Regions from separate parts of the Homo sapiens genome. Here all the other regions are linked to region 3. Evidence: promoter capture Hi-C in 16 types of primary human blood cells and fetal thymus (Javierre and others, 2016). All regions are on one chromosome and are shown on one strand. Each heading gives the region's core, a stretch centred on a gene start or on the middle of the fragment in contact. The rest is flanking DNA. Distances are from core to core; before and after follow the strand shown. Region 1 overlaps LMF2 (lipase maturation factor 2). Region 2 holds the start of SCO2 (synthesis of cytochrome C oxidase 2). Region 3 holds the start of PLXNB2 (plexin B2). Region 4 holds the start of MOV10L1 (Mov10 like RNA helicase 1). Region 5 overlaps MOV10L1 (Mov10 like RNA helicase 1).

Region 1 (5,256 bases), core at 1,595-4,094, 190 kb after region 3:
TGCAGCCTCGAACTCCTGGCTCAAGTGATCCTCCTGCCTCAGCCTCCTGAGTAGCTGGGACTACACGTTCAGGCCACCACATCTGGCTACATTTTAAATTTTTTTTTTTGTAGAGAGAAGCTCTTGCTATGTTGCCCAGGTGGTCTTGAACCCCTGGCCTCAAGTGATCCTTTTGTGGCTTCCCAAAGTGCTAGGATTACAGGAGTGACCGCTGTGCCTGGTCGTCTCACCTTCTTTTGACATGGAGCCCCAGCCTTGGGAGGCAGATGCTGAACCGTGTCCACAGTGCCCCCTTCTGGAAATTCTCCACAAGCCAAGGTTTTGGACAGCTCCAATGTCTGGGGCTATGGCATTTCAGGCGGGAAGTCTCTGCAGAGAGCAGTACCTGCCTTCATCCCTTCCTAGATATTAATTCACTTTCAGACACATACTGAGCAGCTAGTGTGAGCTGTTACGGTGCTGGCTCTGCAGACAGAGCTGCAGCGAAGACAGACGCCAACCCCACCCTCACACAGCCAATCCTGTGCTAGTTTTTTCTGTAGAACCACCACTGGGTTTCCAGTTGGTCTGGGTTATCTGGTGAACTCAGAGACTTTCGCTGTCTTCTGGACACTCCACAACAGTCCAATCACCTGCGGGGACCCTGACCTCTGCAAACCTCCGGGGGGTGGTTCCTTGGTTGGCCGCCCTCCTCTGACGGCTCCGCCTCCCTGCCGAGCCCTGGGATCGTCCTCCCTGGCTCCTGCCTTCTCTCTCATAGGATCTCATTTGTTCTGACACACTTATTCTCAAGCCCAGTAGTTACTCTTGAATATTGCTTATAGAGGTGTGTTTCCTTGAATATTCAAGCATATGTGTTATGTAATGGGTAATAATAAAGTAGGAATGTGCATATATGAATCAGCACAAAATAACTAAAAAAAATCCCATCTCCAAAGTCACTGACTATTGACAAATTCTGGACCTACTTCTCCGTTTGTTGTTTTTTTTTTTTTTTTTTTGAGACGGAGTCTCGCTTTGTCGCCCAGGCTGGAGTGCAGTGGCGTCTCGGCTCACTGCAAGCTCCACCTCCTGGGTTCACGCCATTCTCCTGCCTCAGCCTTCCAAGTAGCTGGGACTACAGGTGCCTGCCACCACGCCTGGCTAATTTTTTCTATTTTTTTTAGTAGAGATGGGGTTTCACCATGTCAGCCAGGATGGTCTCGATCTCCTGACCTCGTGATCCACCCGCCTCGGCCTCCCAAAGTGCTGGGATTACAGGTATGAGCCACCGCACCCGGCCTATTTTTATTTTTTCTTGAGACGGAGTCTTGCTCTGTTGCCCAGGCTGGAGTGGTGTGGCACGATCTTGGCTCATTGCAACCTTCGCCTCCCAGGTTCAAGCGATTTTCCTGCCTTAGCCTCCCGAGTAGCTAGGATTACAGGCACACACTACCATACCCGGCTAATTTTTTTGTACTTTTAGTAGAGACAGTGTCTTGCCACGTTGGCCAGGCTGGTGTTGAACTCCTGACCTCAGGTGATTTGCCCGCCTCGGCCTCCCAAAGTGGCGGGATTACAGGCGTGAGCCACCGCGCCTGGCCCAGATTCTCTTTTTATAAAATTATGATTGTATCACTTAACTATTTCTTCTCGACAGTTGTTATACACAAAGGCAGTAGCTCATTCCCCTAATGGATCCCTTACTTAGCTATCACCTCATAAACAGTTTCCAGCTAATGAGTGTAATATACACAGCAGCCACAAATGTCTCCATGCAAATTTTTTTTTTCTTTTTTAGACGGAGTTTCACTCCTGTTGCCCAGGCTGGAGTGCAATGGCACGATCTTGGCTCACCACAACCTCTGCCTCCTGGGTTCAAGCAATTCTCCTACCTCAGCCTCCTGAGTAGCTGGGATTACAGGCGCCTGCCACCACGCCCGGCTAATTTTTGTATTTTTAGTAGAAACACGGTCTCGCCATGTTGGCCAGGCTGGTCTTGAACTCCTGACTTTGGGAGATACACCCGCCTCGGCCTCCCAAAGTGCTGGGATTACAGGTGTGAGCCACCATGCCCGGCTTAAAAATTTATTTTTGACAAATGCAAGTGGTTTTATTCCTTTTTTTTTTTTTTTGCATTTTACTAGGAAACAGCCTGTGTGTGTTTCCTCCCGGTGCACAGCCTATATGGTTCTTTGACCAAATGGTGTCTTAGTCACTGCATCTGTTAGAGACTCAGCTTCTCATCAAATCAGTTCTATATAGGCTGGGCGTGGTGGCTCACACCTGTAATCCCAGCACTTTGGCAGGATGGTGGGGGGGGGGGGGGCGGTGGATCACTTGAGGTCAGGAGTTCAAGACCAGCCTGGCCAACATGGCGAACCCCGTTTCTACTAAAAATACAAAAATTAGCTGGGTGTGGTAGCGTGCACCTGTAATCCCACACAAAAGCTTGCATATCCAATGTTCACAGCAGCACTATTCACATAGGAAAGGCGGAAGCCACGCAAGCGTCTATCGATATACGAATGAATAAGGACAGGGAAAACGTGGCCCCTCCGTACACTGGACTGACTCAGCCCTAAAGGAACACAGCGCTCATACGTGCTATGACGTGGGTGTGGCCTTGAAAACACCGTGCTGAGTGAAAGAAGCCAGACACAAAGGTCCCATGTTACTGATCCAATTTACAGGAAATATCCAGAGTAGGTAAATCCACAGAGACAGAAGGTAGATGAATAGTTGCTTAGGGCTTGGCAGGGAGGGGTCAGAGGGCAAAGGCTAAAGGGTTTGGGGTTTCTTCTGGAGATGAAAGGTTCTAAAATGGCCTCCGGGCCAGGCGCCGTGGCTCATGCCTATAATCCCAGCACTTTGGGAGGCCGAAGTGGGCAGATCTCCTGAGGTCAGGAGTTCGAGACCAGCCTGGCCAACATAGTGAAAACCCATCTCTACTAATAAACTACAAAAATTAGCCCGGTGTGGTGGTGCACGCCTGTAATCCCAGCTACTTGCAAGGTTGAGGCAGGAGAATCGCTTGAACCCAGGAGGTGGAGGTTGCAGTGAGCCGAGATTGTGCCACTGCACTCCAGCCTGGGTGACAGAGTGAGACTCCATCTCTAAATAAGTAAATAAATGGACTCTGGTGATAGACGTGCAACTCTGTGAATAAACTGAAAGCCACTGAATTGCGCACTTGAACGGGTGAATTGTGTAGCACGTGGCTTACCAAGAGAGCTGCTACACAAAACAAAACACAGAACGCATTCATCAAGTGAGCTTGAAAGCTTAGGAACATCAGGCCGGGCGCGGTGGCTCACACCTGTAATCCCAGCACTTTGGGAGGCCGAGGCAGGCGGATCACGAGGTCAGGAGATCGAGACCATCCTGGCTAACATGGTGAAACCCCGTCTCTACTAAAAAAAAAATACAAAAAATTAGCCAGGTGTGGTGGCGGGCGCCTGTAGTCCCAGCTACTCAGAGAGGCTGAGGCAGGAGAATGGCGCGAACCCGGGAAGTGGAGCTTGCAGTGAGCCGAGATCCTGCCACTGCACTTCAGACTGGGTGACAGAGCGAGACTCCGTCTCAAAAAAAAAAAAACTCAGGAACATCAGCCTGGGCAACAAGGGGAGTGTGGGTGGTGATGGCAGCCTGAGGCAGGAGAATCATTTGAGCTCAGGAGTCTGAGACTGCAGTGAGCCACAACTGCACCACTGTGCTCCAGCCTGGGCAACAGAGTGAGACCCTGTCTAGAAAGCCAAGAAGCCTAGGAACAGGTTTTTTAGTTTTAAACATATTACTTTTTTTTTTTGAGATGGAGTCTCACTCTGTTGTCTAGGCTGAAGTGCAGTGGCATGATCTCGGCTCCCTGCAACCTCTGCCTCCCAGGTTCAAGCGATTTTCCTGCCTCAGCCTGTGGAGTAGCTGGCATTACAGGCACCCGACACCATGCCCAGCTAATTTTTGTATTTTTAGTAGAGATTGGGTTTCACCATGTTGGCCAGGCTGGTCTCGAACTCCTGACCTCAGGTGATCCACCCACCTCGGCCACTCAAAGTGCTGGGATTACAGCCATGAGCCACAGCGCCCAGCCTATTATTAAGCCAAGGCTGACTTCTCGATTGTTTATTCCATGTATAGGAGCCCCTTGAAGACATCTGAGAGTTCACGCCACAGGCTGTGTTTGAGCACAGGGCTCTGCCTGGGTGGGCCAGATGGAGGTCAGTGACATGAGGGAGCTGGGTACATTGGGAGCTGCCCAGGGGTCTGGCAGGAGACCAGGAGGCAGGGGCTGTACCAAGAGGACGGGCCAGAGGCAGAGGAAGCTGTGCTGTGAGTTTCCAGGGTGGGCAGTGACCTCTGATTGATAACCTGACCCCAAATGGAAACCTGGACGGTGCCCTGACTGCTGTCTCTGCTGCTGTTCTCTTCCCAGGATGGAGGCCAGGGGCATCAGATGCACCTTCCCTCCTCCGTCCCAACCCAGGGCCTCCAGCTACCCTCCCCCTGGCCTCACTCTGCAGAGGAGCCTCTTCTAACCTGCCCACCTCATCTCTCCTTCTCCCCTTGCCCACTCTGGCCCTTCCGTCCTTTCCTGAGGCCAAGAAGTGGGAGCAGGAGGGAAGTGAGGGACCGGCTCCACCACCGACCTTGGAGTGTGGAGCTGACAGGTCCACCGGGCTGTGCCAGGCCTGAGGCTCCTCTGTGATCAGGCAGTGGGCAACACCAAGCCAGGCCTCTTCAGAGAGAATGCTGAGGACGGGGCAGGAGGGTGCCCAGGGAGCCACGCCGTGGCGGAGCCTGACTGTGCTCTGGGCGGCCCACTGCCTGGGGCAGGGGAGACAATCCCATCCTCATGCCTCCTGGGAAAGCAGCACCAGGCACACAGCCAAGCACAAAAGACGCCTTTATTGGTGCCCAGATCTAAAGGGCAGGATGGGCTGGTGTGAAGATGACGTGGAAGATGACAGTGCTTCCCCTCTTCCCCTGGGAGTCAGCCTCTTCCCCTCTGGCACGGGGCCTAGGGTTGGGGGCTCTAGACTCAGACCCCCACAGCCCAGGGCAGGGGAAGGGTCTTGAGCTTGGTCGTGTTTTCCTCCTGGGCCAATCACAGAGGCAATAGTGGGAGTCCTGGGGAGGGGCATGGCTGGCGTGGGGGTGGGGCCTGGAGCCCTCAATGCAGCACCCTGCAAACCCCAGGGGCAGCCCCCCAACCTGTGCCTGGCCCTGCAGGGTCAGCTAAGGCACAGTGGCTGGGTCCTGTCCTGCCGGAGGCCAGAG
Region 2 (2,756 bases), core at 1-2,500, 220 kb after region 3:
GGACCCGAGGCTTGAGCTGAGAGAGCCTGTGCCAAGCTGTGGGGCTCCGAGTCAGCAGCAGCATGGATCTGATGCTCCTGGAAACAAGCACAGGCGTCAGGAGCCAGAAGGGAAGGCCCAGGACAGTGCCTGGGCTGCCCCTGCGACTTGAGACCAGCCACCCATCTGAAGGACCCAGCCCACGTTCAGGCTTAACAGGCATTTGCAGCTGCTCACCTGAGCTCAGAACTCCACCTCCACCAAACATCCACACCTGGGCAACCACACCTGTCACTCCTGTCCTCTACCTGGGATCACCAGCCTGTCACCGCACCCTGCCCTGCACCTGCACCTCAGCAAGGTGAACCTCTTGCTGACGGAAAGCATTCCAAGTGCATGCCTTGCCTGAACTAACCACGTTATCTATTTGCAATAAACCCATTTCTTAAAAGGAGGTGGGTAACTCTCTGGCTTGCAATCCCCGAGAGCAACCGATTCCTCCAACACTTTCCTGTTACCTCCAGCCACTTCAACCAACCGCGGCCTTCCTCCACACTCCCAGCAGAAAACCTGCACGACCTACCCCCGGAGCTCAGACTCTGCCCGCCGGCTGTGTTTAACCTCTCCTGGCAGAGACGCACGACACTTCCACCCGCCACAAAACCCCACCCTCCTCACATCCAGGCTTCCCAGCAGCTCCTCCGGGCTCACAGCCGACGCCCTGCCTTTGCGTTGGTGACCTTTGAGCCTTTCCCACGGGCCCCCGCAGAAGGTTTGCTAGGTGGAGGTCTCAGGACTCCCGGTCACTGCCCCCTCCTGCTGAGGGCACCCTCCCGAGGACTCACTGCACCCCCGCCCGGGCGGTTCTGGGTTTGTGCCCTCCCCAGCAAGGCCAGCGCCCTCGTGGCCAGAAAGGTTCCAGGACCACTCGAAGCGCCGCGCGAGCGCGTTATAACTGTGCTTGGCCGCGAGAACACCGGTGCCTGCTGGGAGCCTCCCACGGGCGCCCCAGCCTCGCTCCGGCCTCCAGCGCGCCCTGGGGTGTGCCCCGCCAGCCCCGCGCAGTAGCCGGAGCTGGGAAACTACCCCGGAGTCCAGCGAGTCCTCAGGGCTACCTCCTCCCCTCCCAGCCCCGGCGTCCGCACCTCGCGGCGGGGCCGCGCGTCAGTGGACCAAGCACGAGAGGAAGCGCCGACCTCCAGCTCCCTGCGCTCTGCCCCGCCGGCTCAGGGAAAGCGGGCGCCACACGCTCACAGGCAGGGCGCAGGCGTCCCCGGAGCTGCGCATGCGCACACGGGCGCAGCCGCTGACAGGCTCTCAGCGCGTGCGCGGAAGGCGGAGCCCGCCGGGGGTCACGTGTTCATCGAGACGGCCCCCGCCTCCGCAGCCCTGGATCCTTCCGCTCCCGCCCAAGCACTGACAAGGTTTCGCGGCAAAGGAGCTTTATTGCTGCGGCGGCAGAACGAGCTCTGCGAAGGGCGAGGGGGCGGCGAATGGCGCGCGGTCGGAGAGTACGAGCGCCTCCTGCAGGGCGCGGCTCTGCGGGCCGCTGAGCGCGGGGCCGTCCCGGTGCACGCGGAGCCAGGGGGTCCCTGCAGAGCGAGGGGCTGTTAGAGGCCGCGCGGCCGGAGCTGGGCGGGGGTGCGGGGCCAGCAGGGCGGGGGCGGCGCTCACCACGGCGCAGCCTCTGACCCACGTCGACCAGCAGCTCTGCGCCCACCCCCAGGCGGAGCGGCTCCCCAGCGCGGCTGCGCCCGGCCCCGAGCTCGTGCAGCACCAGCGCCAGCGGCAGCGCCCGGACCAGCTCCACGGTGCCTGCGGGGAGAGGGGCTGAGAGGCGCGGGCTCGGGAAGGGGCGGGGCCTCGGGAAGGGAAGGGGATGGCGGAGGCGGAAGGACGGGGACTCCCCCGACGCTCACCATCTGCGGGCGCCAGCAGCTCCTCCTGCTCCCGGGCGCGAGGCAGCAGCTGCCGGCGTTCTGCGGGACTTCCCGAGCACAGGGCTCGGGCCAGACCGGGATCCACGCCCTGCGCCGCCAGCATCCGCTCGAAGCGGCCAAGGGCCGAGCCGTCGTCCAGCGCCGCGGCCACCCGGGCAGCGCCCTGGGCCTGAGTCCCCGCGTGTCCGCTGAGCCAGAGCAGGGCGCCCCCTGCGGGCGGGGACGGGTCTTAGGCGCGGCCGGGTCGGGGCGGCCCCAGCGGGAAGCACCCCCCGCCGCCTCCGCTCCCCTACACCCCGTCCCCCTCACCGAGCGTGGTGACCAGGTCCCTTAAGTCTGGCGGGCCTGCGCCGTCCATGCAGAGCAGCGCCTCCTCCACCTCCAGGGCGTGGCCCACGCAGCGACCCAGGGGCTTGTCCATGGCGGTCAGCGCTGCCGCGACCCGAAGCCCTAGGCTGGCTCCCACGCCAACCTGCGGAGAGGAGGCTCAGCGTGGACCCCCCATGGCGGGGCCTTCTGCAGCCGGTTCTTGGTCGAACTCCAGCCCCTGCTGCACCCTGGGTTGCCAGCCCCCCAGCATGAAGTCAGGGAAGGATTGGGGTGGGGAAGAGACACGAGTGAAGTGCGACACCTCGCCATGGGGCCAGGAGGAACTTGTACTTGGTCTGGGGCAGGAACGCCACAGAGGGCTTCCCCAGGTCCAGGCCGGGCCAGCCTTGACCTCTAAAGTCACAGCAGGTTAGGAAGCCGTGAAGGAGGGAGGGACTTCGGGCAGAAGAGGGTGGGACTGGGGTTAGGCAGGACTGCTGAGTGGAGGGAGGCAGTGGGGACGGGAGG
Region 3 (5,502 bases), core at 1-2,500:
CCTCACCTCTGGACAGGAAAGGGAGGGCTCCTCCCACCAGCTGTTCAGCTGTTCCGTGCCAGGGTCATCTGGGCATGGGGCAGGCTGAGAGCCCCCACTTCCCGGCAGCCTCGCTCTCCCACCCGCAAAGGGCTCCTGAGGAAGCTCAACTTTAAAGCCTCACAGGCTGCGCCGAACCTCCAAGCAAGGGCCGAAGTCAGACATTAAGTGGGGAGGGCGGGGGGGTCCAGGGAAGGTGGGGCACAGGGAGCCCTCCAGGCCGCCGGGATCTGCCGGGTTTGGGGCCCACCCTCACCCTCACCCTCACCCTCACCCTCACCCTCACCCTCACCCTCACCCCCTGTCCTGACTCTGCCACAGCCCACAGTGGGCAGACGGACCCCTTTCTTCCTTTCCCAGGGAGCTTCGGGAAGAGAAATCAAGGGCCTGGCAGGAAGCCCCAGGGCGTCCGGGCTCTGAGACCCCCAGATGACAGGGGGAGGCGGGCTCCCCAGATCTGCCGAATAGCCCGACCAGGGGCGCTGGCAGGGCAGGGGCTTCCTGCAGGAGCAGGGTGCGGAGGGGCAGGGTCAGCAGGGGACAGGCAGGGCTCGCGCCCCCGCTTCTGAGACTTTCTGTGTCTCGGGGTGTCCACCCAGACGCCACTCTGGGAACCGCGAGGAGGCCCAGGCAGTGGGGTCTCGCCAGGTGCGGGTGCTCTCCGCCCTGGTCCCCCCGCGCCAAGCAGGCCCCAGGGGGTGCGGGGACGGCCCCCGGGAGCTCGGGCAAATCCAGGCTCCTGTGCCGCTGAGCCTGGGGCCGGCCCGGAGCGCCCGCACCGCGAGACCATCTCCGCTCGGCGCACGGAGCTCGGCGGCTGAAGAGTGAGAGGCAGGCGCGGAGGAGGGATCCGACGCGGCTCCGGAGGGACGCGCAGCCCCCGCCGCCGGGCCCGTCCCCCGAGTCAACACCGGGAAGGGAGTGGGGCGGCAGCGGCCCGGGCCTCGCCGGATGGACCGACGGACGGGGCCCAGGCCCCGGGAGCCCTCCGCGGAGCCGCAGCCGCCGCAGGTCCCCGGGCCCCAGCGCGGCAGGCCCGGGCGGAGCGGCGCTGACGGCGAAGCCCCCCCCACGCCCAGCGAGACGTCCCCCGCAGCCCAGTCCCCCGAGCTCGGTACCTGCACGTCCGCCGCCAAGGCTCGATGGCGCCCGGGCCGCGCTCGGCGCTGCGCTCTGGCCCGCGCTGCTGCCATGGAGACGGGGCCTTTGTGTGGCCGAGGAGGGGCCGGAGCGCGCGGGAGCTGCCGGCCCCGCCCCCGACGAGGGAGAGGAGGGGAGGGCGGGGAGAACAGGAGAAGGGGGGAGAGGGAGAGGGAAAGCGGAGGGGGAGAAGGAGGGGGAGGGGGAGGGGGGAGAGGGGGAGGGGGGAGAGGGGGAGGGGGAAGAGGGGGAGGGGGAGAGGGGGAGGGGGAAGAGGGGGAGGGGGAGGGGAGGGGGAGCAGGAGCGGGGAGGAGAGGGCAGAAGAGAACCGGAGAGGAGGGGAGGGGACGGGAGGGGAGGGGCTGGGCCTGCGCTCCCCGCGCCCCCCACTTCTCCCCTGCCCAGCGGCCACAGCATTGTCTGGTAGGTTCAGGCACCCCAGTTCAGACCCAGGTTCAGCCAGGGCAGCACCCTGCCCACCATGCCGCCGTCCAGGAAGCACGAGCGCCCACAGAGGCCCCATGGCCTGAGCACCCCCACAGGAACCCCGCAGGTCTGAGGGGAGGCCATGGCTTGGTACCAGGGGAGGGCATTATGAGTGCACTCTCGCCTGGCCAGAGGAACGTGAGGGTCCCTGCCAGTCTTGAGATGTGTGGGCACCAGACTCTCACTCCCAGACTGGAAGCATACCAGTCGCTCCCCTGCGGCCTTCAGGGGTGGGGGCTGCTGGGCTTTGGCCCTTTCCCAGGGGTCTCAGGCCCTCAACCTCCCAGGGTAAACTGGGACCTGGAGATGGCCTCCCAGCACATCCCTGGCCTCCAGCAGCACCTTGGGATGCTGCACCCGGGACCCCACCTGGTCCTTCAGGGCCAGGAGGTGGGCGGGCCGAGACCTCTTTCTGGGGGTTCTGGTTTCTGGGACAGAGCTGGCCCCACTTCTGGCATCCCAGGTCCCAAGTCCTGGCCTCAGTGCTCCTAGTGTCCCCTGGGCTTGAGAAGAGGTGGTGAACCGTCTGCAGGGCCAGACCTTGGAGCACGCCTCCACTGCCCTCCCGGAACTGGATGTGCTGAGCAGGAGACAGAAGCATTCCCCAAGCTCTTGCCCCCACCCTGGGTCACCCCTCCCTGGGGCCCGCCTTCCACCCAGACCTGCCCCGTCCTTGCAGCTGGTCAGCTTCCTCCTGTCCCCAGCCAGGCATCCCCTCCTCCTCTGCTTCCCCCACCCGGGATCCGCCCCGCCACATCCTGACAAACTCCCCCAGCCTGACTTAGTTCTTTCAGTCTCTGCCTTCTCCCACCCTCAAGCAGCCAGGCCTTGTTCCTGTCCAAAATCTTCCCTTGGGCCTTGAACCACAATCCACATCACGGCAACCCTACCCTTCACTGCAGAGGACCCCAAAATTACCAGGTTCTGACAAGGTTGCCAACTTTTTATCAAAAAAGGAAAAGACAAGGTCCAGTCACAAAAGGACATTTTAATACCAAAACTGTGGGAAGGCCACTGTTCTAGACTAAAAGGGAGTCTTTAAATAGCCAGCAGGAAGCTTGAGGGTGAGCAGCTGTCCTTCCTGTCCCTGAGCAGGCCCCCTGTGTGCACCCTCAGCCCCGAGCCCCACTCCAGACCTGCTCCCAGCCCTTCCCACCCTCTAGGTTCTGTGGTCCCTGTCCTTCGGGAGGCCTGTGACCACAGCAGTCCTCACCCTCGCCAACTAAGTTCTGCCCAGCAAGCCCTCTTGCCTGCGGGGGCTGGCACTCTGGCCAGGGGTAGAGCTGTCTGGACCTTCCTGCCTCTTCACTGACTGCCCCTGGCCTGGAGTGCGTGGGGCGGGGAGGGCCATGGCCTAGCCCTGGACAGAGGCTCAGCCAACTCAGAGCGGCCCTGACACTGGGGGGGCCACAAGAGGCATCCGGACAGATGGAGCTGGCAGGTCTCCACGCCCAGCCCCCACCCATCCACCCCAGGCCACATTCCACCCCAGGCCTCTTCTGCACAGGTGGGGACAGGCCCTGAGGAAGAGGGGCTGGGACACTACCCCCCACCTTAGCCTTAGCTTCTGCCCAGGGCAATGCTGGCCACCCAGCCCGGTTCCCCCCTCAAGTTCCCCCTTCACACGCCACTATGTGGCCTCACCAGAGCCCTCCAGGGAAATCTGCTTGTGCATTTCTGGATACACAGTGGCCAGGGTCCCTGGGGGCTCCTCAGAGACCAGCCTGAAGCCCCTCCCCTGCAGCCATGTGGGTCTGCAGCCCTCTGTGCTGTGCGGCAGCCCTCAGAAAGCCAAGTGAGGCGAGACTGTGCTGTGGGGAAGCACATGCTGCCACGGTCCTTGGGGTGCGCTCCCCAAAGTGGGGTCACAGTTGTGAGAGAGGTGGGTTGTCTTCCCAAGCTGCCCCGACACCTTGAAGTGGTGGTCCTCAGGGGGCTGGTCACCAGCATAAGGCTTTTGCAGAGGGCCCTGGTGGAGGGCAGCTGATGGCAGGGCCTGTACTGGCCCCCCAGGCCCCATCTTATGGAGGTCAGCATTCAAGCTGCCCACACAAGAGGTGCCAGCATCTCTGCAGACCCTCTAGAGACCAAGCCCTCAGTGGGGAGGCTGGTCCCCCTGTGCTACAGTCAGGAGGCCCAAGCTGCATTTGGGGCCAGGACCTTTCTCACCCTCGGGTCCCCGGCTTGTCCCTGCCACAGAACAGGTTTGCCACCTCGGCCTCTATGTGTTCTGTTTCATGTGGTCACATCCTTGGACCCTGCACCAGACATCTGGGGCTTAACAGCTCCCCTTGGTCACCCTCCCGGCTGCCTCCGCGTCTTGTCTGTAGAATGGGAACAGGGACAGGCTGTCCTGGGCTGCAGTTGGGCTGGACAAGTTGACATGTACCAAGTTCTGAGAACTACCTGGCGCCCGGACACCTGACCCCGCTGTCCTTGTGGCTCAGTCACATCCTGCACTGAAGTGGCTGGCAGTGCTCGCTCTCCACCACCTGGCTGGAGGTCTGAGAGCACCAATGAGAACACAAACAGTACGTTGCGCTGAATGAAGGCTACATTCCTCGGACTGAATGGGGGCCTCAGAAGAAAAAGAAAAGTCCCGGCCGGGCGCGGTGGCTCATGCCTGTAATCCTAGCACGTTGGGAGGCCGAGGCGGGCGGATTACGAGGTCAGGAGATCGAGACCATCCTGGCTAACATGGTGAAACCCTGTCTCTACTACAAATACAAAAAATTAACCAAGCGCAGTGGTGGGTGCCTGTAGTCCCAGCTACTCGGGAGGCTGAGGCAGGAGAATGGCGTGAACCCGGGAGGCAGAGCTTGCAGTGAGCCGAGATCATGCCACTGCACTCCAGCCTGGGCAACAGAGCGAGACTCCATTTCAAAAAGAAAAAAAAAGAAAAAGTCCCTCCCCCAGCCCTGTGTCCCCTGGCCAGCACCCGCCCGGCCTCACAGGGTACAAAGCCCAGTCTCCATGAGTGGCCCTCCCAGCACCCTGTCGGGCATCTGCATGGCTGGCTCGCTCAGATGAGGAGTCTGAGGGTCTGAGTGGTCAGGGGACCTGCTCCCGGGCACACAGTGCGTGATGCTGAGCAGGGCTTGGCTGTCCGGAGCCCTGACAGTACCGTCACTGTGTGCTGTGCAGGGTCAACACCGTACCTCACCGGCCTCAGTGCCTGCAGGTGTCACGGGGGGAGCATACAACCCAGAGGTGGCTCTTAGGGACGTTCACCCCTTACCAAGGAAAGGGAGACATGCAGGCTCCAGCCAGAGGCAGGGTCAGGCCGAAGTCCAGAGCCCCTTGGGCTGCATGTGGGGGATGGACGGACACACTTGGACAACAGGAGCCCTGTCCACCTCCCAGAAGGGACGCACGGAGCTGGTGCCTGGTGGGGGCTCCAGGACTGGGAGCCAGGAAGGTGCTGTGGCTCTCCGAGAGCCAGGCTGAGCCAGCTCTCCTAGCAGAGGTGCTGGGCTGCACACAGCCCCCTGCCCAACCCCTACCTCCCAACAAACCACAGCCCCAAGCAGGTGGGTGTCCAGAGGAGCACCAGGGGTGGTGAGCAGAGCTCTTCACACTGCAAAGTGGTCTCTCCCTTTCTCAAGTTGATGACTATATGCAAAATAGCCTCCCATCCCCAGACAAGACGGGGGCTGTGTCAGGAGAGGGTCCCTCCTGTCCTGGGCAGCCTGTTGGGCTGAGGGAAGCATCACACACAGCGCAGGGGGGTCGGGGGCCAACAGATGGGCACCGGGAGGGGCAGACGGTAGACGCACCCACATCAGCAAGGGCTCCCAGCCTGTCCCCGCCCCCGTCCCAGCCTAAGGTCTGCAGAG
Region 4 (5,574 bases), core at 2,121-4,620, 220 kb before region 3:
TGCTCTCCACTTAGAAATACAAACAAGCTGCCCTGAACCAGAGGTTGCAGAGCAAATCCCTCAGCTTCCCAGATCATAAGTCATCACTTGAGAAATGCTCCCAAGTTTCTGTTGGCAACACTAGTTTCTAGAACAGGCCCTGTTCTTTCATACAATCTTCCAACAAATTCTTGCTCCTAAAATGCCCTTCATCCCTCTGCCTGCTGATGTCCCATCATCATTCAACATTCAACAAACATTTATGGGGTGGACAAAGAAGTGACGTCCTTCCTATAGGCTGTTTACATTCATTGGGGGCACAGGAGTGCACAGGATAAACAAATTAGTGTGTTATACAGTGATATGGTTTGGCTGTGTCCCCACTCAAATCTCATCTTGAATTGTAATTCCCATAATTCCTACATGTCGTGGAAGGGGCCCGGTGGGAGGTAATTGAATCATGGGGGTGGTTACCCCCATGCTGCTGTTCTCCTGACAATGAGTGAGGTCTTATGAGATCTGATGGTCTTTTATAAGGGGCTTTCCCCGCTTTTGCTCAAGACTTCTCCTTCCTGCCACCTTGTGAAGAAGGACATGTTTGCTTCCCCTTCCACCATGATTGTAAGTTTCCTGAGGCCTCCTCAGCCCTGTGGAACTGTGAGTCAATTAAAGCTCTTTCCTTTATAAGGACTTGACTCTAAAATTACCCAGTCTTGGGTATGTCCTTATAGCAGCGTGAGAACAGACTAATGCATCCAGTGACACACATGATTTCCTCTATGAGGGAAAAGAAGTCAGGGGAGAGAAATGAGGGGCTGCTGTTTGCAGGGGCCAGGGCAGGCCTCAGTGAGAAGGAGGCAGGGAGGGGAGGCTGGCAGAGTTGAAGCAAAGGCCACAGGTTGGGGAAGGCAGGCGAGGACCATGCAAGGGGGATACAGGTAGGACAGCCAGGTGCCAGCACCTGTGGGTATGGAGACGACTCTGCTTCAACTCTGAGACAGACCTGCTGGAGGGGTCTGGGCAGAGCAGCATCCGGTCACTCACTGGGTGGAGAGCAGGCTGGGGGGTGGGAGGAGCAGGTGCTGCCTGGCATTGAGGTGGCAGTGGGCAAGTGGTGAGGAGGGACTGGGCTCTGAACAGGGTTTGAAGAGCGGACGCAATCTGCTGTCAGGGCGACGTTGCTGAGTTCTGTCTGAGCAGTGAGGACAGAGATGAGAAGACCAGGGTGGAGCAGGTGTGGAGCGAGGATCTGGAGTTCCATTCTGGACATGATGAGGCCGAGATGTCTGTGGGCATCTGCCGGGTCTACTGAGTCCAGAATCCCAGGGAGTGGCCCGAGCTGGGGAGCTGAGGGGCAGCCCTGCAGGCACAGCACCCGCTGCGAGCTGCCCTGGCAGGGAGCCCATGAGCCACCAGCCCTCATGCAGCTCGCTCTTGTTTCCAAGCTAATCTCCCACCAACCAGTAGGTCCCTGGGACCCTGCTGGCTCCTGTATGTGTTCCAGCACCCAGCCCAAGACACAGGCTTAGCGGGGATTTGAAATGCTAGGGAGTGCGCCACTCTCTCCCTTCCCACAGCAAGAACTATCAGTACACTCTGCATCCATGGACAGGCAAGGTCCAGGCTGTCATCAGACTGACAGATCTGACCTAGGAAAATAAAGCTATGTCAATCAAAAATAAGTCGGGGCTGGGCGCAGTGGCTCACACCTGTAATCCCAGCACTCGGGAGGCCAAGGCGGGTGGATCACCTGCGGGTCAGAAGTTCGAGACCAGCCTGACCAACATGGTAAAACCTTGTCGCTACTAAAAATACAAAAAAAAAAAAAAAAAAAAAAAAAAAAAAAAGCCAGCGTGGTGGCGCACGCCTGTAATCCCAGCTGCTCTGGAGGCTGAGGCAGGAGAATCACTTGAACCCGGGAGGTGGAGGCTACAGTGAGCTAAGATCATGCCACTGCATTCCAGCCTGGGCGACGGAGCAGGACTCCATCTCAAAAAAAAAAAAAAAGAAATAATAAAAAACAGAAACCACTGGAATAGTAAAGATATATATACGTATTTTGTTTTTGTTTTTGTTTTGAGGCAGAGTCTTGCTCTGTCTCCCAGGCTGGAGTGTAGTGGTGTGATCTCAGCTCACTGCAACCTCCACCTCCTGGGTTCAAGTGATTCTTCTGCTTCAGCCTCCCAAGTAGTTGGGATTACAGGCATGCGCCACCATGCCTGGCTAATTTTTTTTGTATTTTTTTGTAGAGACAGGATTTTGGCAGGTTGACCAGGCTGGTCTCGAACTCCTGACCTCAAGTGATCTGCTCACCTTGGCCTCGCAAAGTGTAAAGATATTTTTAAAATAGAGAAAAATCAATGAAATCAAGGGATGATTTTTTTTAAAAACTCAATAAAATTGATAAATATAGACTGATCAAGGAAAATGAGAGGGATGAGATAAATTACCTATGTCAAGAATGAAAGATGGCTCATCATTATGGACCATACAGACGTTAAAAGGATAATAAGGAAATATGCTGAACAACTTTATGCCAATAATCTGACATCTAATAATTGGATGAAATGGACAAATTCCTTAAAAGAATTACCAAAGTTTATTCAATATTACCTTGATAACTTGAATAGCCCTCTAGCTGATGCAGAAGTGAATTTCTCATTAAAAACCTTCCCACAAAGAAATCTCGAAGCCCAAATGGGTTCCCCAGCGAATACTACCACAATTTTTAGGGAATAAGTTACCCCATCCTACTCCCAGGTCACTGCAGGCCCGGCTTAAACCGACCCCAAACCAGACAGACACAGAAAACGGGAGGTCGGCCACAGAGCAATCTGCTTCACCAGCACCGTCCCCAACCTTGGACAAAGCGTTACCAAGCTGAGTCAGGCAATACACCAAAAGGATAACGAATCGTGACCAAGTGAGTTTTCCAAGGAGAGCCAAACAATGTAATTCCCTATGGGCTGAAATAAAAAGCTACAGGATCATTTGAATACATGCAGAAAAGCGTTGCAGAAAATTTCACACCCACTCATAAGAACTCTTGGAAAAACAGGAATAGAGGGAACTTCCTCAACTTGATAAAAAACACCAACAAAAAACGACTCCTAACATCACTCTGGGTGGTGAAAGCGCACTTTTCCCTAATGTGTGGGCGGCAAGAAGGCGGACCCGCTCGAAGCTCCGCCCACCCACGCGAGGCCCCGCCCGCCCGCTCGAAGCCCCGCCCACCCGGCGGTCACACCGCCTTGCGCGCTCGGCATGACGTCACTCCCACCAGGCACCTCGCCTTGTCAGGAGCTGCCAGGCGCCAACCGCCGACCTCTGACCGCTACGGGTCCCGGCTCGCGCAACGACCCCAAGGCGCATGCCCAGGCGCGGCGACCCCATTGGTGGCGGGCGGCGGGAGCGGCGCGGGCGCGTGCGGGCGGCGGCAGCGGCGGTGACGGCAGCCTAGGCCGGGCGAGGGCCATGCTGAGCCTCGCAGCCAAGCTGGTGGCCTTCTTCTGGAGGACGGCGGACACCCCTAGGGAGGAAGCCGGGCAGCTGGAGCCCGAGCTCGCGGAAGGTGGCTCGCGGGAGGCGGCTGGGAGGCGGGTCCCGGGCCCTCGCGTGTCGGCCACGAGGGAGCCGCGCCCATAGGTCTTTGAGTGCAGTGCGGGCCGGCAGGCAACGCTGGGCCCGGCCTTTCCTCATCTCCGCTGGCGGGGATCCCCGTTCGCCTCAGGAGGCTTCCGACCCCACAGCATCCCGCCGCTCTGGGCGCCCGTCCTCTGTGAGGTCTCTCCGGTGACACCAGCCCCTCTTCCCGCCCTCACTTTGTGTGTTTACGCCGAGCAGCTGCCAAGTCGTCTCTCCATGTCGTTCCTCCCTGTCCGCAGCGTCATTGGCGGTGGTGTGTCTAGAAAGCCCCGAAAAACGCGGCCCCGCAGACTTGGCCTGTCCTTTCAGAACGCGCTGCGCCAAGGCGTGCCATTTCCTTGTCTGGTTTTCAAGCCCATCTTTCTAAAGCCCGGGATGCGCCCGGATGCCCTCACCGTTCCTTTCTCCTGAGGTGTTTGTGTGTGTGTGTGTGTGAGACGGAGTTTCGCTCTTGTTGCCCAGGCTGGAGTGCAGTGGCGCAATCTCGGCTCACCGCAACCTCCGCCTTCTGGGTTCAAGTGATTCTCCTGCCTCAGCCTCCCGAGCAGCGGGGATTATAGGCACCCGCCACCACGCCCGGCTAATTTTTGTATTTTTAGTCGAGGGGGGGTTCGCCATGTTGGTCAGGCTGGTCTCGAACTCCTGATCTCAGGTGACCCACCCACCTTGGCCTCCCAAAGTGCTGGGATTACAGGCTTGAGCCACCACGCCCGACCTCTCCCGAGGTTCTGATGGCTTCTCCCGATGTTTCCTTATGTGGGAATGGAATCCACAGTAGTGGGTCCCTAATTGCCTTCTGTGAGAAAAGACAGGAACAGGCTTCAGGAGGGGAGCTTCCTGCTGCAGGCAGCGTGTTCAGGGCCTCTGGATCCACGAGGGCCGATGCCCGGGGGGCCGGCTGTGTTACCTGGAGCACTTGCTCCGTGGATCTCTTCGGTAGAACACGCGCTCAGCGGTAGCTGGAGCTCCAGCTCTTGGCAGCGCTCAGATCCTATGCCTGTACTGTAACCGTCGCCCCAGGTTCCTCCCGTGGCTGGGAAGCTGCAGTAAAGGCACGTTCAGGACTCAGGACCGTGGCTGCAGCAGTGGCCAGACGGCTGAGGGCGTGCGCTGCTCCTGGGCCAGACTTGTCTGCCCAGCCCCGAACCTTTTCCAGCACCGTGTTTGTTGAGATTCTCCAGTCTTCCGAGGCTGCTGCTGATGGTAATAAAAAGATAATCGATAGTACTAATAAAACCGTGCATGCTAATGACTCCCAGATGCTGATATAAGTGGCCATTTACATAGCACTTAACGCGTGTCAGCCACGCAGAGGTCCATACATGCACGTGTGTTCTGCCACTTAACCCTTCAGCAGCTCTCTTGGGTAGTGACGATTAGTCTCCATCTTACAGATGGCAACAGGCCCAGAGTAGTTAAGGACCTAGTCCAGGGTTACACCAATGGCAGTAGAAGAGCTAGGAGTCAACCCCATGCAGTCTGTTGTGGAGTCAGGGCTGTCACCTCCACAACCACTACCTGTGCCCTTCTGAGGAAACTGGGCTGTCTGCCTCCAAACCCCACGTTCCAGACACAGCACTCTCTGATGGGATTCTCTCTGTCTCAAGTCAGCCCGTTCGGAGTCAGTGCCTCCGAACTGCAAAAAAAGGAGGCTTTTGCACTCTGCCTTTCTCTGGTGGGGTTCACTGTAGCGTACGCTTGCTTTTATGGCCAAGATAACTTCTTTGTTTACCTACCTCAGGTGACACTAAGCTGAAAACTGTACGGGGTGTCGTGACAAGGTACTGCAGCGATTATGGCATGATTGATGATATGATCTACTTCTCCAGTGATGCTGTGACTAGCAGAGTGCTTCTGAATGTTGGACAGGAAGTGATTGCAGTTGTGGAAGAAAATAAAGTGTCCAATGGACTGAAAGCAATCAGGGTAAGGTTTGAGTTCATTTGGGAA
Region 5 (5,818 bases), core at 3,249-5,748, 170 kb before region 3:
TGGCTCACTGCAACCTCTGCCTCCCAGATTCAAGTGATTCTCCTGTCTCAGTCTCCAGAGTAGCTAGGACTACAGGCATGTGCCATCACACCCAGCTAATTTTTGTATTTTTAGTAGAAACAGGGTTTCACCATATTGGTCAGGCTGGTCTCGATCTCCTGATCTTGTGATCCACCCTCCTCGGCCTCCCAAAGTGCTGGAATTACAGGCGTGAGCCACCACACCCGGCCTTAGAGTTTTATTTTTAAATTATATGGTTTATGTGTACACTTAGGTACATTTATGTGATTGTGTATGCATGGAAAATGTCTGGAAGGATACACACCCCGCAAATTGTTAACATTTGCAAACTTTGTGAATGTTGCAAAGATATTTTATAAAAACTTCTAGGCCGGTCGCAGTGGCTCACGCCTGTAATCCCAGCACTTTGGGAGGCCGAGGCGGGCAGATCATGAGATCAGGAGTTCAAGACCAGCCTGGCCAAGATGGTGAAACCCCATCTCTACTAAAAATCCAAAAATTAGCCGGGCATGATGGTGTACACCTGTAATCCCAGCTACTCAGGAGGCTGAGGCAGGAGAATCACTTGAACCCAGGAGGCAGAGGTTGCAGTGAGCCGAGATCACGCCACTGCACTCCAGCCTGGGCAATAGAGCGAGACTCCATCTCAAAAAAAAAAAAAAAAAGCTTCTATAATCCAGTCACTCCATAAATAGTAATATAGTGCCTATTACATGCCAGGTATTGTCCTGGGCTCTCAGTATATTTTTGTGAATACAATAGAAGTGGTTTTATTTATCTTCATGTTTCTAGTAACAAGAAAATCATCTGTGTCATGGTGGAGCTTACAACTTATTTTGTGCTATTCAAATTTGGTTTTATGAGCATGTTTTCAATGTATAACATGAATTTTTAAATTATATCTAATACTCAAAAATGCTCACCATTTTATAGTTCCTCCCCCAAAATGCAAAAATGATAGGTTTAGAATGCCTATACAATCATGGAAAATACGACAAATGAAGCAGCAAGAGGTTATCCTTGAAAGTCATCTGTGGCATATTTCATAGTTGATCTCTTTTTTGTTCTGCAAATAGAAAAGAGTCTTCCTTGGACAGTGCTTTTCTTCTCCGTCATCACCTCATTACTGGTTCATTCTACTGCCTGATTCTCGGGGAGAGTCTGTGGTGCAGATGGCATGTGAGATCAGGGAGGTGTTACTATTTAGGTGGGCACATTCCTAATTGACTGTAGGTTTTAAAACCTGAAACTTTATCTTCTTATGGATTAACTAGATTGAAAATAAACTCAAGAATATTTCATATGTCAACCAAGATAGAATTTCAGGGACCAGATTTATCTTCCTTCCTGAAACAATAAAAAATCAGACAAACTATATGGAACAACAATTTCAGACATTAACATCAGCTATCATAGGACAGGGATTCCTGAGAGAGGAAACAAATGAGGTGACCTCATGGTTTTCCCAACTCACAGCCTTCCGAGAGTGTCTAGGCCAGAGAGCACCAAGAGGGAGCCCAGGCGGAGTGCAGTGACCTGAGTACAGAGACAGCATTTGGAAGGGTGGGGAGGACAAGGGGGATAAAGCTGACAGAGTAGAGTGCTGGGGAGAGGGCAGGGGACAGAGAGCAGCTGGGCACCTACAGAGATTCCTTCTTGAGTTTTCAGCTGAGCATTGATCAGTGCATGATGTGAGTAAAATACCCAGGCCTGGAAAAGAACCAGCTGGAAGGAGGAGCAAGAACAATCCTTAAAAGTTGACACAGTGCCAGAAATAGCTGTGCCCACAGCCAGAGAAGAAAAACCTCGTAATTCACATGTAGAATCCATGGGAGGGTGTTGTCTCAGGAGCGTAGAAAGTCCAGCCTTTGACTGAAGGCTGCTCCGGCCCAGACTGACAAAGTATGATAGCCTCAAAAGAAGCAAGCTGTTCCCAAATAATTGGATTACATCCCAGAACAAAGTTTAAGAATATTTATAGGAATATAAAATTATCCAGCACCCAGCAAGGTATAAAATGGACACTGACATCTGGTTACAAAATGAAAAAGTGAAAAACGTAACCCAAAAGGAGAAAATTTAGTCAATTGGAACCAACCCCCCCGAAATAACATGGTGGAATTAGCAGACAAGGACATTAAAACAGTTATAAATATGTTCCATGTGTTCAAGAAAGTAGAAGACATGAGCAGGTTAAGTGGAGACACGAAAGATATATAAAAGACAATTTTATCTTCTAGGAATGAAAAATTCAATGCCTAGAATGAAAAATATATTGGACAGAATTATCAGCAGACTAGACAATGCAGAAGGAAAAATTAGTGAACTTGAAGACGGAGCAATAGAAACTATCTAACATGGAACAGAGGCGGAGGCTGCAGTGAGCCGAGATCGCGCCACTGCACTCCAGCGTGGGCAATAGAATACAGCAAGACTCCATCCCAGAAAAAAAATTAGCTGGGTGTGGTGGCATGTGCCTGTAGACCTAGCTACTCAGGAGGCTGAGGCAGGAGAATCGCTTGAAACCAGGAGGTGGAGATTGCAGTGAGCCAAGATCATGCCACTGCGCTCCAGCCTGGGCGACAGAGCAAGACTCTGTCTCAAAAAATACATATGTATATACACATATATATATTTTATATATATACATATATAAATATACATATTTTATATATATACATATATAAATATACATATTTTATATATATACATATATAAATATACATATTTTATATATACATATATAAATATACATATTTTTATATATACACACATATTTTATATACACATATTTTTATATGTATACATATATGTATCTATGTATATGACACATGTATATGAGACCAAGAGGGTTCATCCCAGGAATGGCTTAACATTCCAAAAATAAATGTGTAATATACCATATTAACAAACTGAAAAGGAAAAACCATATAATCATGGCAGTAGACTTGGAAAAAGCATCTGACAAAATCCAGCATCCATTCCTGATCAAAATTCAGCAAACTAGAAATAAAAGGAAATTTCTTTTACCTACAAAAACCTACTTAGTGATAACTGAATGTTCTTTGCTTGTAAGATCAGGATCAGGGCATGTTTCCTCAGCATTTCTGCCCAGCATTGTGCATTGTAGACAGGCAATGAAGCAGAAAGAACAGGCATCCGCATCCTGTAGAAAGTCTGATGGAGGCCGGGTGTGGTGACTCGTGCCGGTAATTCCAGCACTTTGGGAGGCTGAGATGGGAAAATCACTGAGAACAGCCTGGGCAACATGCAAGACCCTGTCTCTATTTTTAAAAAGTTTAAAAATTAGCTGGGCATGGTGGCACACACCTGTAGTCCCAGCTACTCAGGAGGCTGAGGCAAGAGGATCCCTTGAGCCTGGGAGGTTGAGGCTGCAGTGAGCTGTGATTGTACCACTACACTCCAGCCTGAGTGATGAAGTGAAACCCTGTCTCAAAAAAAAAAAATAGAAAAGAAAAAAAATCTGATGGAATCTAAAATGAAGCTGTTAGAACTAATAAGTGATTTTGCAAGATACAAGATCAGTGTAGAAAAATAAGTTGTATATATATTTCCAGTAAACACTCAGAAATTGTTTTTTGGTGTTTTGTTTGTTTGTTTTGAGACAGTCTCGCTCTGTTGCCCAGGCCGAGGTGCAGTGGCGGATCTCGGCTCACTGCAACCTCCGCCTCCCAGATTCAAGCAGTTCTCCTGCCTCGGCCTCCTGAGTAGCTGGGATTATAGGTGCGTGCCACCACACCCTGCTAATTTTTGTATTTTTAGTAGAGACAAGGTTTCACCATGTTGATCAGGCTGGTCTCAAACTCCTGACCTCATGATCCGCCCACCTCAGCCTCCCATAGTGCTGGGATTACAGGCGTGAGCCACCATGCCAGGCCTGAATTTTTTTTTTTTTTTAAGTAGCACCTAAATGTTTTAAACATTAGGGATACATCTGACAAAAGATGGGCAACAAAAGACGTAAATCAATGGAGGGAGATATTAGTATCTCTTGGGCCGGAAGATTCCATATTATCAAGTTACCTGTTTTACCTCACGTGGTCTGTAAATGCAGGGCACGCGCAAAACATGGACCTGGGTCCATAGCTCACAGCGCAGACAAAAACTAACTTACTCTGCGGTTTATAGCCGCAATGTCAAGCCTAAAACTATGCATCTAGGAAACAGCATAGAAGAACATCTGCACGTCCTCTGTTTGGGCAAGGATTTTTTTTTATGTGACACTAAGAGCATGACTTACAGAGAAATGGATAAATTGGACTTCAGTGAAATTAAATATTTTGCTGCTGAAAAGACATTGTTAGACAGTAAGGTACAATGGCATACACTTTTAGTCCCAGTGACCCAGGAGACTGAGGCTGGAGGATCTCTTGAGCCCAGGAGTTCCAGGCTAGCCTGGGCAACATAGAAAAACTCTGTCTCAAAAAAAAACAAAGAAAAAAAAAAGACACTGGTAAGACAATGAAAAGTGACAGACTAGAGAAAATATTTGCAAATCACATCTGATCAAGAACTTGTATTCGGAAAACATATGAAAGTACTCTACAAACTGCCTAAGAACTCAATTTTTTATAATGGATCAAACACTTGAACACTTTACCAGAGAATACATACAGATGGTAATAAACACATGAAAGATGTTCAACATCATTAGTTGTTAGGGAAACACAAGTTAAACCACAATGAGGTACCACTGAACACCTGCTAGAATGGCCAGAAATTGAGTTGGGCCATCTGCGCGTTGGTGAGCCCGTGGGGCCGCTGGCACGTACCCTGCTGTGGGAATGGGGAGTGGCACACCACTGTGCAAAAGGTGTTTTTAAGAAGCTGGACGCGCACCTGCCATACAACCCAGCCATTTCTCTCTAGAGAGATGAAGACATAAGGCCACGTGAGGACCCATACACAAAGTTCACAGCAGCTGGGTTTTTAATCACCAAAAACGAAACAACCCAGTGTCCGTGAGCAGGTGAATGGATAAGCAAGTTGCATTGTGTTCGTACAATGGAACATGACTCAGCAATACAAGGAGCAAACTGTTGACATGCAACAACACAGGTGGCTCTCCAATGAATCACACTGTGTGCATTTATATGAAGTATGAAGTTCGAGAGCATGTGAGCCAGCCAGTGCCACTGGAGGGGCTGCGGCACAAGGCGGCTCTGGGGACTGACAGGTCTATTTGTCATCTTGATTGTGCTGATGGTTTTATGGGTATGTGCACGTCAGACTTGTCAAGTCACACACTTTAAATATGTGCACCTTATTGTATGTCAGTCACACTCTGCAAAACACAATGGTTGTGGGAGGAGGTTATAGGCATAACCTTCTAGACCATGGGTGTCCAATCTTTTGGCTTCCCTAGGCCACGTTGCAAGAAGAATTGTCTTGGGCCACACATAAAATTCACTAACACTAATGATAGCTGATGAGCTGAAAAAAATATGTATCACAAAAAAATCTTATAGTGTTTTAAAAAGTTTACGAGTTTGTGTTGGGTTGCATTCAGAGCCATCCTAGGCTGTATATAGTCCATGGGCCGCTGGTTGGACAAGCCTGTTTTAGACTAAAACTTAGCAATGTGTGTAAATTTTTTAACGTGAAACTTTTTTTTTTTGAGACAGAGTCTTCCTCTGTCCTCCTAACTGCAGTGTAGTGTCGCAATCATGGCTCACTGCAACCTTGACCTCCTGGACTCTAGCAGTCCTTCCACCTCAGCCTCCTGAAGTGCTCAGATTATAGGTGTGAACCACTACCCCTGGCCCCAGAACTTTTG

What was found. The method cuts DNA at HindIII sites, captures the fragments that hold promoters and counts their contacts. A CHiCAGO score of 5 or more calls a contact.
Region 1: a contact is called between a fragment that was not itself captured here and the fragment with the promoter of PLXNB2 in region 3, in 6 of 17 cell types (naive B cells, M0 macrophages, naive CD8 T cells and 3 more). The highest score is 7.9, in naive B cells.
Region 2: a contact is called between the fragment with the promoter of SCO2 here and the fragment with the promoter of PLXNB2 in region 3, in 8 of 17 cell types (naive CD8 T cells, M2 macrophages, monocytes and 5 more). The highest score is 7.8, in naive CD8 T cells.
Region 4: the fragment with the promoter of MOV10L1 here is called in contact with the fragment with the promoter of PLXNB2 in region 3 in 2 of 17 cell types (neutrophils and activated CD4 T cells); the score reaches 6.6 in neutrophils.
Region 5: a contact is called between a fragment that was not itself captured here and the fragment with the promoter of PLXNB2 in region 3, in 2 of 17 cell types (neutrophils and naive CD8 T cells). The highest score is 5.7, in neutrophils.

Annotation. Positions count from the first base shown.
Region 1 is chr22:50,498,086-50,503,341 of GRCh38, forward strand. It overlaps LMF2 (lipase maturation factor 2), which reads right to left. Exons shown (of 14, transcript NM_033200.3): 14 at 4,864-5,256. Among named protein-coding and RNA genes, the nearest start is that of LMF2, 7.0 kb to the right of the region's middle. The HindIII fragment of the contact is 833 bases long and covers 2,429-3,261 here.
Region 2 is chr22:50,524,348-50,527,103 of GRCh38, forward strand. SCO2 (synthesis of cytochrome C oxidase 2) reads right to left here and starts at 1,251. Exons shown (of 2, transcript NM_005138.3): 1 at 1,125-1,251; 2 at 1-77. The coding sequence starts at 64. NCAPH2 (non-SMC condensin II complex subunit H2) reads left to right here. Exons shown (of 20, transcript NM_152299.4): 20 at 1-433. TYMP (thymidine phosphorylase) reads right to left here. Exons shown (of 10, transcript NM_001953.5): 7 at 2,229-2,391; 8 at 1,899-2,129; 9 at 1,654-1,794; 10 at 1,405-1,571. The coding sequence ends at 1,423. RefSeq lists silencers at 923-1,222, 1,433-2,262 and enhancers at 2,353-2,652, 2,461-2,756. The HindIII fragment of the contact is 21,491 bases long and covers 1-2,756 here.
Region 3 is chr22:50,306,396-50,311,897 of GRCh38, forward strand. PLXNB2 (plexin B2) reads right to left here and starts at 1,251. Exons shown (of 37, transcript NM_012401.4): 1 at 1,158-1,251. It overlaps DENND6B (DENN domain containing 6B), which reads right to left. Exons shown (of 20, transcript NM_001001794.4): 20 at 2,635-5,502. RefSeq lists an enhancer at 1-104 and silencers at 412-562, 1,083-1,152, 1,163-1,362, 1,523-1,572, 2,273-2,322. The HindIII fragment of the contact is 14,640 bases long and covers 1-2,721 here.
Region 4 is chr22:50,086,636-50,092,209 of GRCh38, forward strand. It overlaps MOV10L1 (Mov10 like RNA helicase 1), which reads left to right and starts at 3,371. Exons shown (of 27, transcript NM_018995.3): 1 at 3,371-3,550; 2 at 5,366-5,550. The coding sequence starts at 3,454. The HindIII fragment of the contact is 7,134 bases long and covers 1-5,574 here.
Region 5 is chr22:50,135,082-50,140,899 of GRCh38, forward strand. The region is part of intron 15 of MOV10L1 (Mov10 like RNA helicase 1); the gene reads left to right. Among named protein-coding and RNA genes, the nearest start is that of PANX2, 33 kb to the right of the region's middle. RefSeq lists a silencer at 4,797-4,981. The HindIII fragment of the contact is 7,627 bases long and covers 686-5,818 here.